Regions from separate parts of the Homo sapiens genome. Here all the other regions are linked to region 1. The links are contacts of gene promoters, found by promoter capture Hi-C in blood cells and fetal thymus (Javierre and others, 2016). All regions are on one chromosome and are shown on one strand. The core of a region is centred on a gene start or on the middle of the fragment in contact, and the rest is flanking DNA. Distances in the headings are between cores, read along the strand shown.

The links. Contacts are between HindIII fragments. The CHiCAGO score rates a contact against its expected background, and 5 or more counts as called.
Region 2: a fragment that was not itself captured here is called in contact with the fragment with the promoter of MCTP1 in region 1 in 1 of 17 cell types (megakaryocytes); the score reaches 6.2 in megakaryocytes.
Region 3: a contact is called between a fragment that was not itself captured here and the fragment with the promoter of MCTP1 in region 1, in 1 of 17 cell types (megakaryocytes). The highest score is 8.5, in megakaryocytes.

What each region holds. Positions count from the first base shown.
Region 1 is chr5:95,283,633-95,286,659 of GRCh38, reverse strand. It overlaps MCTP1 (multiple C2 and transmembrane domain containing 1), which reads left to right and starts at 1,566. Exons shown (of 23, transcript NM_024717.7): 1 at 1,566-2,804. The coding sequence starts at 2,085. RefSeq lists silencers at 2,218-2,277, 2,358-2,477. The HindIII fragment of the contact is 7,244 bases long and covers 1-3,027 here.
Region 2 is chr5:95,560,268-95,563,294 of GRCh38, reverse strand. The region is part of intron 1 of ARSK (arylsulfatase family member K); the gene reads right to left. Among named protein-coding and RNA genes, the nearest start is that of ARSK, 6.7 kb to the right of the region's middle. The HindIII fragment of the contact is 2,864 bases long and covers 1-2,857 here.
Region 3 is chr5:95,543,827-95,546,853 of GRCh38, reverse strand. The region is part of intron 4 of SKIC3 (SKI3 subunit of superkiller complex); the gene reads left to right. Among named protein-coding and RNA genes, the nearest start is that of SKIC3, 9.6 kb to the left of the region's middle. The HindIII fragment of the contact is 2,091 bases long and covers 375-2,465 here.

The sequences.
Region 1 (3,027 bases), core at 317-2,816:
GAAACATGGACTCTCACTCTGGCTATAGGACCCACTCCCTTAGCTGACCTTTTGTTTCACTACATCTCTTACCAACCCCACCCACCTTGCTCTACTCTATTTGGAGTGGTATCGTTCTGTCCTTGAATATGCCCAGTCAAGCTGCTTCCTGCCTCAGGACCTCTGTATCTGCTGTTCCTTCTACCTGAAATTCTACAGTCAGATCCGTCAATAGCTGGTTCTCTGTCCTCATTAAGTCTTAACTCAAAATTTTATCTTCTCAGAGAGACTCTCCCTGTACACATAATGTAAAAAACCAAAAACCTCTCCATATGGGGCTGCCAGATTTAGCAAACAAAAACATGACACCCAGTTAAATTTAAATTTCAGATAAATAATAGTATTTTAGTATAAGTATGTCCCATGCAATATTTGGGACATACATATACTAATATTATTCATTGTTTCTCTGAAAGTCAGTTTAATTGGGTGTCCTGCATTTTGTCTGGAAGCTCTTCCTCTGTAGCCACTCTGTTATGTGGTACCCTGCTTAACTGTTTCCATGGGACTTTTGCATATTAGAAATTCTGTTTATTGTCTCGCATCACCTCCCAACCCTCACCCTCACAATAAGCTCCATGTGGGTGGGACCCTGATGCCCTGTTCACAGCTGCATCCCCAGAGCCTATCACAGTGCCTGGTATATAGTAGGTGCTTAATAAATATTTGTTATAAAGGTAACAAAAACAAAACAAAACAAAAAACTTAGGTTGGTAACACCTCCAAAGCATACTGCTAGCTAGACAAGACTGATCAGTGTGCTACCGCAGCTTAGGGAACTCTCCCGTTTTCCCCATTTAGGAGGACGAAAGAGGCATTGTGTTGCTGGCCTTTCAGAAGTCTCTCCTAGCAGAATCAGAAGACCCTGGCTGAGCAGCTTTGGGAGAAGCAAAGTCTGAATGAGCTAAAAAGCCTTTTCCGTTTGCCTTGCAACAAGCAAATGAAGTAACCAAAGAAAAAATGCGCTTGAATGAAAAGAACAAGATTCTGTGCGTGCCGAATCGGATCAAAGGCAGTGCGCATCACCCATCTTCGTCCACCGTAAACTCCCTGCAACTTAAGGGCTGGCTTTATCGTCAGACTCCGGAAATGCTAGAACCTGATCATAAGAGACCAGTGCAGAGGCAAATAAAGAAAAGGGAGGGGTGGATGGGGATGAAGTCAAGACAGAAGAAATTAAACTCTCGTCTTGGACCCAGGGAGCGCAACGGGGCGGGGGCAGACGTCTTCAGCTTTAGAACTCCGTCGGGTTCATCGCTCAGTGTGGACGATCGGCGCCCCCACGAGACCCATCGAGGGCACATAGTTTCCACTCCAGCTCGCTTCATCCGACCCAGACGATCGCCAGCGCGGCCAGCGGCCAGCGCACAGCGAGCTGCCTGGGCAACTGTGGCCGGATCCTAGGGAGCAAGCTGGCTTCGGGCCCTACCTAGCTCCACCCGGCTCCTACCGGCCCTCCCACCTAGGAGCTGGAGGATGGTCCCGGGGCGCCCCAGGGGGACTGCTGGTCCCCGGAGTCTCCAGCCAGACGCGCCTTGTTGTGTGAGCCGCGTGCGCGCCCAATTTGGAGGCAGCCGCCCCCGCCGCTGACAGGTGCTGCCCAGAGGGCGCCGGGTGCGGTCCCTGGCGCAGCTGGACGCGCACGCCCCGGTGCGTGCAGCTTCCCGAGCTCGGTCAGAGAGAAGAGGGAGCCAGGGCGCGGCCTGGGGGACGCCAGTGGACTGGAGCCGCGGAGCTTCGAGGGAAAAACTTTGCAGGCGCCGCGGCCGGGATTCGGTTACGGCTCCAGCCCACCCCAGCAGGTGCGGGAGGAAGAGGCAGCGCCGGAGTCCCGAGGCCAGAGAGCCTCGGCGGCGGCGGCCGCTTCTTTCCCCCGAGCTGGCCTGAAGTCGCTGGGCACTCCCGGTTTCTGCTGCTGCGCCCGCCGCCGCCGCCGCCGCCACCGCCAGCGCCGCGGGGACCCGGGAGGAGGTGCAGCCGAAGAGGGAGGAGAAGCAGGAGGAGGAGGAGGAGGAGGAGGGGAGAGGAGGAGCAGGGGGTGGAGGATGGAGCCCCGGGCTGCCGCGGCGGGCGAGCCAGAGCCGCCGGCGGCGTCCTCCTCCTTCCAGGCCCGGCTCTGGAAGAACCTGCAGCTGGGGGTGGGCAGGAGCAAGGGCGGCGGGGGCGGGCGCGCTGGGGGTCCAGAGCGCCGCACTGCGGACACCCCGTCGCCCTCCCCGCCACCCCCGGTGGGCACAGGGAATGCACCGGCCAGGGGGAGTGGTGCAGGCAGCAGGTGGAGCGGCTTCAAGAAGCGGAAGCAAGTGCTGGACCGAGTCTTCTCCTCCTCGCAGCCCAACCTGTGCTGCTCGTCGCCGGAGCCCCTGGAGCCCGGCGGCGCCGGCAGAGCCGAGCAGGGGTCCACGCTACGCCGCCGGATCCGCGAGCATTTGCTCCCCGCCGTAAAGGGGCCCGCGGCGGCCTCGGGAGCAGCGGGAGGGACGCCTCCTGGCGGACGCTCCCCCGACTCAGCTCCTTCCTCTTCCTCCGCCTCATCCTCCCTGTCCTCCTCGCCCCAGCCTCCCCCGAGGGGGGACCGCGCCCGAGATGAGGGTGCACGGCGTCAGGGCCCCGGGGCGCACTTGTGCCACCAGAAGAGCTCCTCTCTGCCGGGCACCGCCTGCCTGGAGCAGCTGCTGGAGCCGCCGCCTCCTCCCGCAGAGCCGGCGCGGAGTCCCGCGGAGTCTCGGGCCCCGGAGACGGGCGAGGAGCACGGCAGCAGCCAGGTGAGTGCCGGTGGCGCGGCCGGAGACAAGGTGCGCGGGACCACGCCTCCCTCTTCAGGCGTTCACCACCCGGGGAGCGGGGGGCGGGGGCCGGGAGGCGGGAGGAGAAATGCTATTAATTCTAAGTAGATGAAACAGTCGAAAGAAAACATCTCGCTCTGGTTTAGCAAAGATGAAAGAGTTCTGACTTGCACCCGGACTTTACTTTTGGTAGAAATGATAC
Region 2 (3,027 bases), core at 176-2,675, 280 kb before region 1:
CTGGATTAAGCATATCAATTGCAAAATTTGGTTCCTAGGAAATATTTAAATTATGATATACATATTCTCAATATCAGAAATATCAATAATACTCTAAACGAAGACCAAAATGTTATTAGAGAAAATATTTAAAAATTTTCTAGAAGTTTTGGTTTTTGACTTCATGTAGTTTTTACACACTAACAAATCATTTAAAAACTAGGCTACTACTAGTACTGCTGATAATGGTATCAATGGGAGACGGTCAGTAGAATATTTCATTCTGAACTGAAAGGCATCTTAACACAGCTGGCTGATGAAAAAGAGAGAAAGTAAGTTTTCCATAGTATGTTAATGTGGTTTACAATGGATAGCCAGTTATAAGTGAAAACACAGTTCTGTCAAATTTAGTTGGCAGAGAAAATCTTGAAAAATGGCTTTTGTTATAACTTCTATAACTTACTAATAGCCCATTTCAATTTTCTCAAGGCCATTCCTATGGTTCAAACAAATTAAGCACTCTAAAATTGGGCATTTAAGAAATAAAAATGACCCATTAATTGGCTTTCTGCAAAAGTTACAGAAATGGTACCAACTGCCTTTAGTTGCTGCATTCTGCTCTTGTTAATTAATTCTCATGGGTCCACACATTTTTCCCCCTTGGGGTGGGTAAGTCTTTTTGTAGATACAATTTTGTGATTTTGATTGCTCCTTCTGAACCATGGCTTGTACTCGGTTCCTTATCATTATGGGCCATGCAGAATCAGAGAAGTTTAGGTTTGAATTAATCATCCTAATAAAAGAATGTAACAGCAACTTTAATTTGCCATGTCAGCATGGCAAGACTGCTTATAGTGTTCTTCCCAGATCTGTCCATCAGACTGAATGAGATTCTCACTAGACTCTCTAGTAAACACTCCTGTACCTACTCTCCCCTGCCACTCCTGAAACCTCAGCAAAACTAAAACTGATACAGGTGCAGTGGCAGGGAGTAGAGGTAGGAGTAGGAGTGGGGATGCAGAAGATGCCTCTGTCCTTTAAGACCCAGGCAGAGATGCTTCTTTTCTATTATTTATTTAATTTTAAATTTTTATTTATTTTTTTTGAGACAGAGACTCACCCTGTCACCAAGGCTGGAGTCCAGTGGCACAATCTCGGTTCACTGCAACCTCTGTATTCTAGGTTTAAGCGATTCTCCTGACTCAGCCTCCCGAGTAGCTGGGCAGGTGCCCACCACCATGCCTGGCTAATTTTTGTATTCTTAGTAGAGATGGGGTTTCACCATGTTGGCCAGGCTGGTCTCGAACTTCTGACCTCAGGTGATCTGCTCGCCGTGGCTTCCCAAAGTGCTGGTATTACAGGTGTGAACCACCGTGCCTAGCCTGTTTTCTGTTCTTTTAAAAATGGGTTTATTAAGATATAATTAACACACTAAACAACTCATCCATTTAAAGTGTACAATTCAATGGTTTTTAGTGTATTCAGAAAGCTGTGCAACCATTACCATAGTCGATTTTAGAATGTTCTCATCATCCCCAAAAGACATTCTGCACTCTTTAGCCATTACTCTCTATTTTCCTGAAGCCTAGGCAACCACTAACCTACTTTCCGGCTCTATGTTTGCTTTTTCTGGACATTTCATATGAATGGAATCATACAATATGTGGTCCTTTTTGACTAGCTTCTTTCATTTAGCATAATCTTTTTAAGTTTCATCTATATTGTAGCATATACCATATTTTTTATTGTTGAATAATATTACCAAATTTTATTTATCCATTTATCAATTGATGGGCATTTGGGTTGTTTATACTGTTTGGCCATTATGTATAATGAACATTATAATGCTATGAACATTCATGTAGAAGTTTTTGTGTAGACTTATATTTTCATTTCCCTTGAATATACACCTAGGAGTAAAACTGCTGGATTATACAGCAACTCTATGGTTAACCATTCGAGAAACTGCCAAACTGATTTCCAATGGCTGCGTGATCCTACCAGCAGGGTATGGGTTGCAATTCCTCCACATTGTTGCCATCTCTAGTTATTGTCTTTTTCATTATAACCATCCCAGTGGGTATAACTGGTGTCTCACTGTGGTTTTGATTTACATTTCCCGAATGATTAATGATGTTGAGCATCTTTTCATGTATTTATTTGTCATCTGCGTATCTTCTATGAAGAAATGTCTATTAAGATCTTTTGGCCGGGCATGGTGGTTCATGCCGGTAATCCCAGCACTTTGGGAGGCCTAGGCGGGTATATCCCAAGGTCAGGAGATCGAGACCATCCTGGCTAATACGGTGAAACCCCATCTCTACTAAAAATAAAAATTAAAAAATTATCTGGGTGTGGTGGCGGGCACCTGTAGTCCCAGCTACTCAGGAGACTGAGGCAGGAGAATGGCTTGAACCTGGGAGGCAGAAGTTGCAGTAAGCCGAGATTGCGCCACTGCACTCCGGCCTGGGTGACAGAGCGAGACTCCATTTCAAAAAAAAAAAAAAAAAAAAGATCTTTTGCCCATCTTTTAATTGCCTAATCCACAATCACAAAGACTTACACCTATGTTTTCTTGTAAGAGTTTTTTAGTTTTACATTTGATTAATCAATCAATTTACTTAAAGTTTTTTTTTGTGTGTTTGTGTATGGTGCAAGGCAGGGTCCAACTTCATTCATATTTTTTTTTTCCAGCACCATTTGTTTAAAAGATCATTCTTTCCCTATTAAATGGTCTTGGCACCCTTGTTAAAAAATCAATTTACTATAAATATGAGAGTTTATTTCTGGACTTTAGATCCTATTCCATTGATCTGTATGTCACCTATCCTTAAGCCAATAACATACTACATTGATTGGTGTAGTTAAGATATAAGCTTTAAAATTGGGAGGTGTATGTCTTTCAACTTTGTTCTTTTTATTTCAAGATTTATTTTTGGCTATTCTGGGTCCCTTGAATTACCATATGAATTTTAGGATGGGTTTTTCCATCTCTGCAGAAAAAAAAAAAGGTTCTAGGGATTTTGACAGGCATTGAATTGAATCTGT
Region 3 (3,027 bases), core at 171-2,670, 260 kb before region 1:
CAAAACCAAGTTCTTAAAACCTGAATATCCCATAAATATCTTTTGATGGTTGTATCGTGGAATGCTACTGTATCTTAAAGTTTTCATTGTTTAATGGCATGTTAGTGTTCTATTTCTATTTGGTTTGTGGATGAGAGGACCAAGATTATAAAGCTTATTTTTATGCTGATGGGTATGATTCCATTCAGAGGGAGAAATTGGACTCGGGGGAGAGACAGAGGGTAGTGGTAGGAGTGAAGTCATCAGTAGGTGAGAGACACACTGGGATCCAGAGCTTGAGGGAGCCCTTTAATCCTTCTTCCATCTTAGCAGGAGAGAAGATAGGTGCCCATCCATACAGTGTTGGGCTTATAGATTTGGTGTTGGGAAAAGCTTTCTTCTCTAATGGCTTCTATTTTCTTGGCAAAGTATAAGATGAGACTGGGAGAAGACTTGGTTATTGGTTAGGAGGTTTGAGATAGCAGAAGGTATGAAATAGTTTCTTTCTTTGTTTTTTTTTTTGTTTTTTTTTTTTCTCATGGTGGGAAAAGAAACTTGCTAGTAAGGATTGGAAAGATTAGCAGGCCCTAGTGATTGCCCATTTGAAGTTTCAAGCTATTAAAGTGAAATTAGTGAACTCCGCTGTAGTTTTTCTCTTTGTATTCAGTTTCTCAGGTTTGGAGATGGGCATGATGGGGTTCAAGTATGGATGGAGAGAAAGAAGAAAGGAAAGACATGCAAAGGAAAGACATGACAAGGGAGTGATGACAGTGGTGAGCCCTGGAGTCTAAGCTGGGTAAAGAGGAATGAGAAATGAGAGGTGGGCTGATAGGCAATGGAAAAAGCGTTTAGGATAGAAAAAATTAGAGAAACCAAAGGTTAAAGATTTGTTACCATGGGACCACTACAGTAATTGAACTGGGACGGTTAGAGAGGAGCAGAATAGTACTGTGCTGGAAATTCAGATTTTGGATGGGTGAGTAGTGTGGTGGTCACATAACTGAGAGGCCAGAGTGTTCAACGGGATATCAACATGAATACAGGCACTGAGGTGGAAAAGAAGGATACAGAATTTTCACTGAAGGAAAGGGGAATTAGGAAGGTGGTAGACTGTAGCAACAAGAAGGCTATTTTTAGTAGTATAGTTGGATGGCCTGAGCTTCAAAGGTAGTGGGGTTGCTGAAGGAGGAAGGAGCAGTAGAGGACTGTAGGTGACAGACAGTGTGAGCAAGAAGCAGTTTCTCACCTTCTAGGCCTGTGGCATGTGAGCTGTAAAAGAAGTCATCTGCAATCTGTAGGATGTATAGGGGAATTAGCCATGTTTTCATTGAGGCAGAACTTGGTGTGGTTAAAAGAAAGGTTAAAAATATGGAAGGAACTTGGCTGACCCAGATTGGGAGTTCCAGAGGGCACAATGAAGAATTTAGGAGAGTGGTAGGGAGGGAATTGGGCAAGACTGGGCAGTATACATGGCAATATGAGGATGAGTCTAAGGAGTAAACAGGTAAAGGATACCCTTGTGAGGTTTAGGTTTCTGGTGGTGACTGATGGAGCCCAGCAGGGATGCAAGGACGTGATAGTATTAATCTTGATATAGAAGAAGGTGGGCAGTGTGTTCCAAGTGGGGACAGGTTGTGGATGGAATACAAGAAGGGAAGAAGGACTGTTTCCTTCAGCACTAGGTTTATCTAATTGATGCACGTTTCAGTTATATACAGCACCACCATAGCTGTCTTCTTCCTGTAGACTTTCTGCAAAATTCAGATATTAATTCCACCAAATAGTTAATAATTTATACTAGAGAGACCCAATTAGAAAATGCAAATGGATAGCTAATCAGTTATAAATGCCTGATTACTAATGTGTAGTAACCCAGAATATTGGTTGAGACTAAATGAATTTTTGAGTAAAGGAATGTTGCATTTGCTGTGGTTTTGTCTGATCATCACCTTGTCTGCCTGTGGCGCTTTATCACATGGTATGAGTATCCCTTCAGGGAAGCCTTCTCCAGTTTATGCAGAGTTCGGTACTTTTTTCTCTATGTTCTTTCAGAATCTCATACCTGCCTTCACCACATTGTTGATAATCATTTTCTTAAACATCCATTTTGGATTCTGAAAACCTGGTCATCAGGCAGATAGTCAGTACTTAACTAATTGCTGGTTGAGTATGGCATTTTGTTCAGCTGTTAAGTGCCAGCCATTGTACCTGGTGTTGGGAACATAAGCATTAATAAGGCCCCAGTGTTTAGAGCTTAACTTTGGTAGTTACATCATTGTTGTGGTTTGTTAGGAGGCAGCATTATTATGTTGAAGTCAAAATAAATAATTTTATTTTGGGAAACAAGAATTGCAATTTGGGGCATACACACACAGGCTAAGTGGTCTTTTGTATGTCTGAAGAACAAAGAGAAGATTGGCCATTTTATTGGAAAGAAAAATGTTATGTATTATTTTGAAAGAAAGCTCACTGGTACTAGAGAAGCTTTTGGGAGCTGGCAGGCTCTGATTGGTGAGTGACGATGGTAGGTAAAACTAGACTTAGAGTCATGGCAGCTACTGGGGAAAACTGGTCTTAGGGTTACAGCAGGCCCTCTCAGCAGCCGGGCTTTTGGAAAATTTAAATCTTGGAGCAGGTGCTATGAGGCCTGAGTGCCTTTTCCCCCTGGTGCTCCCTTTACTCTGACTTAGGTGACAAGAATGACCCAATTTGTGTAATCAGTGTGTTCACAGATAGAATGGAGCTTGTACTGCATATTAGGGACAGATTATTAGGAGTGTTGTGTGGAAACACTCAAGTCTAATAATATGACTCGCTTAACTCATGGAAATGTTCTTATTTTCTCTGGAATAATGTAAAACCTTAAGAGGCTAATTTCATTTTGGCTACTGGTTTTGTTTTTCTTTCCCTAGAACATACTTGCTAACTGCTTCAAGCTGTTTTATTTTACCTTTAGCAAGTAGCTGTTATTTCTGAAAGCAATTATCTCTACATATAATTTTTATTCCAGTTGGCAGGTGTTGTTTAAACATCATTGCCACTATTTAT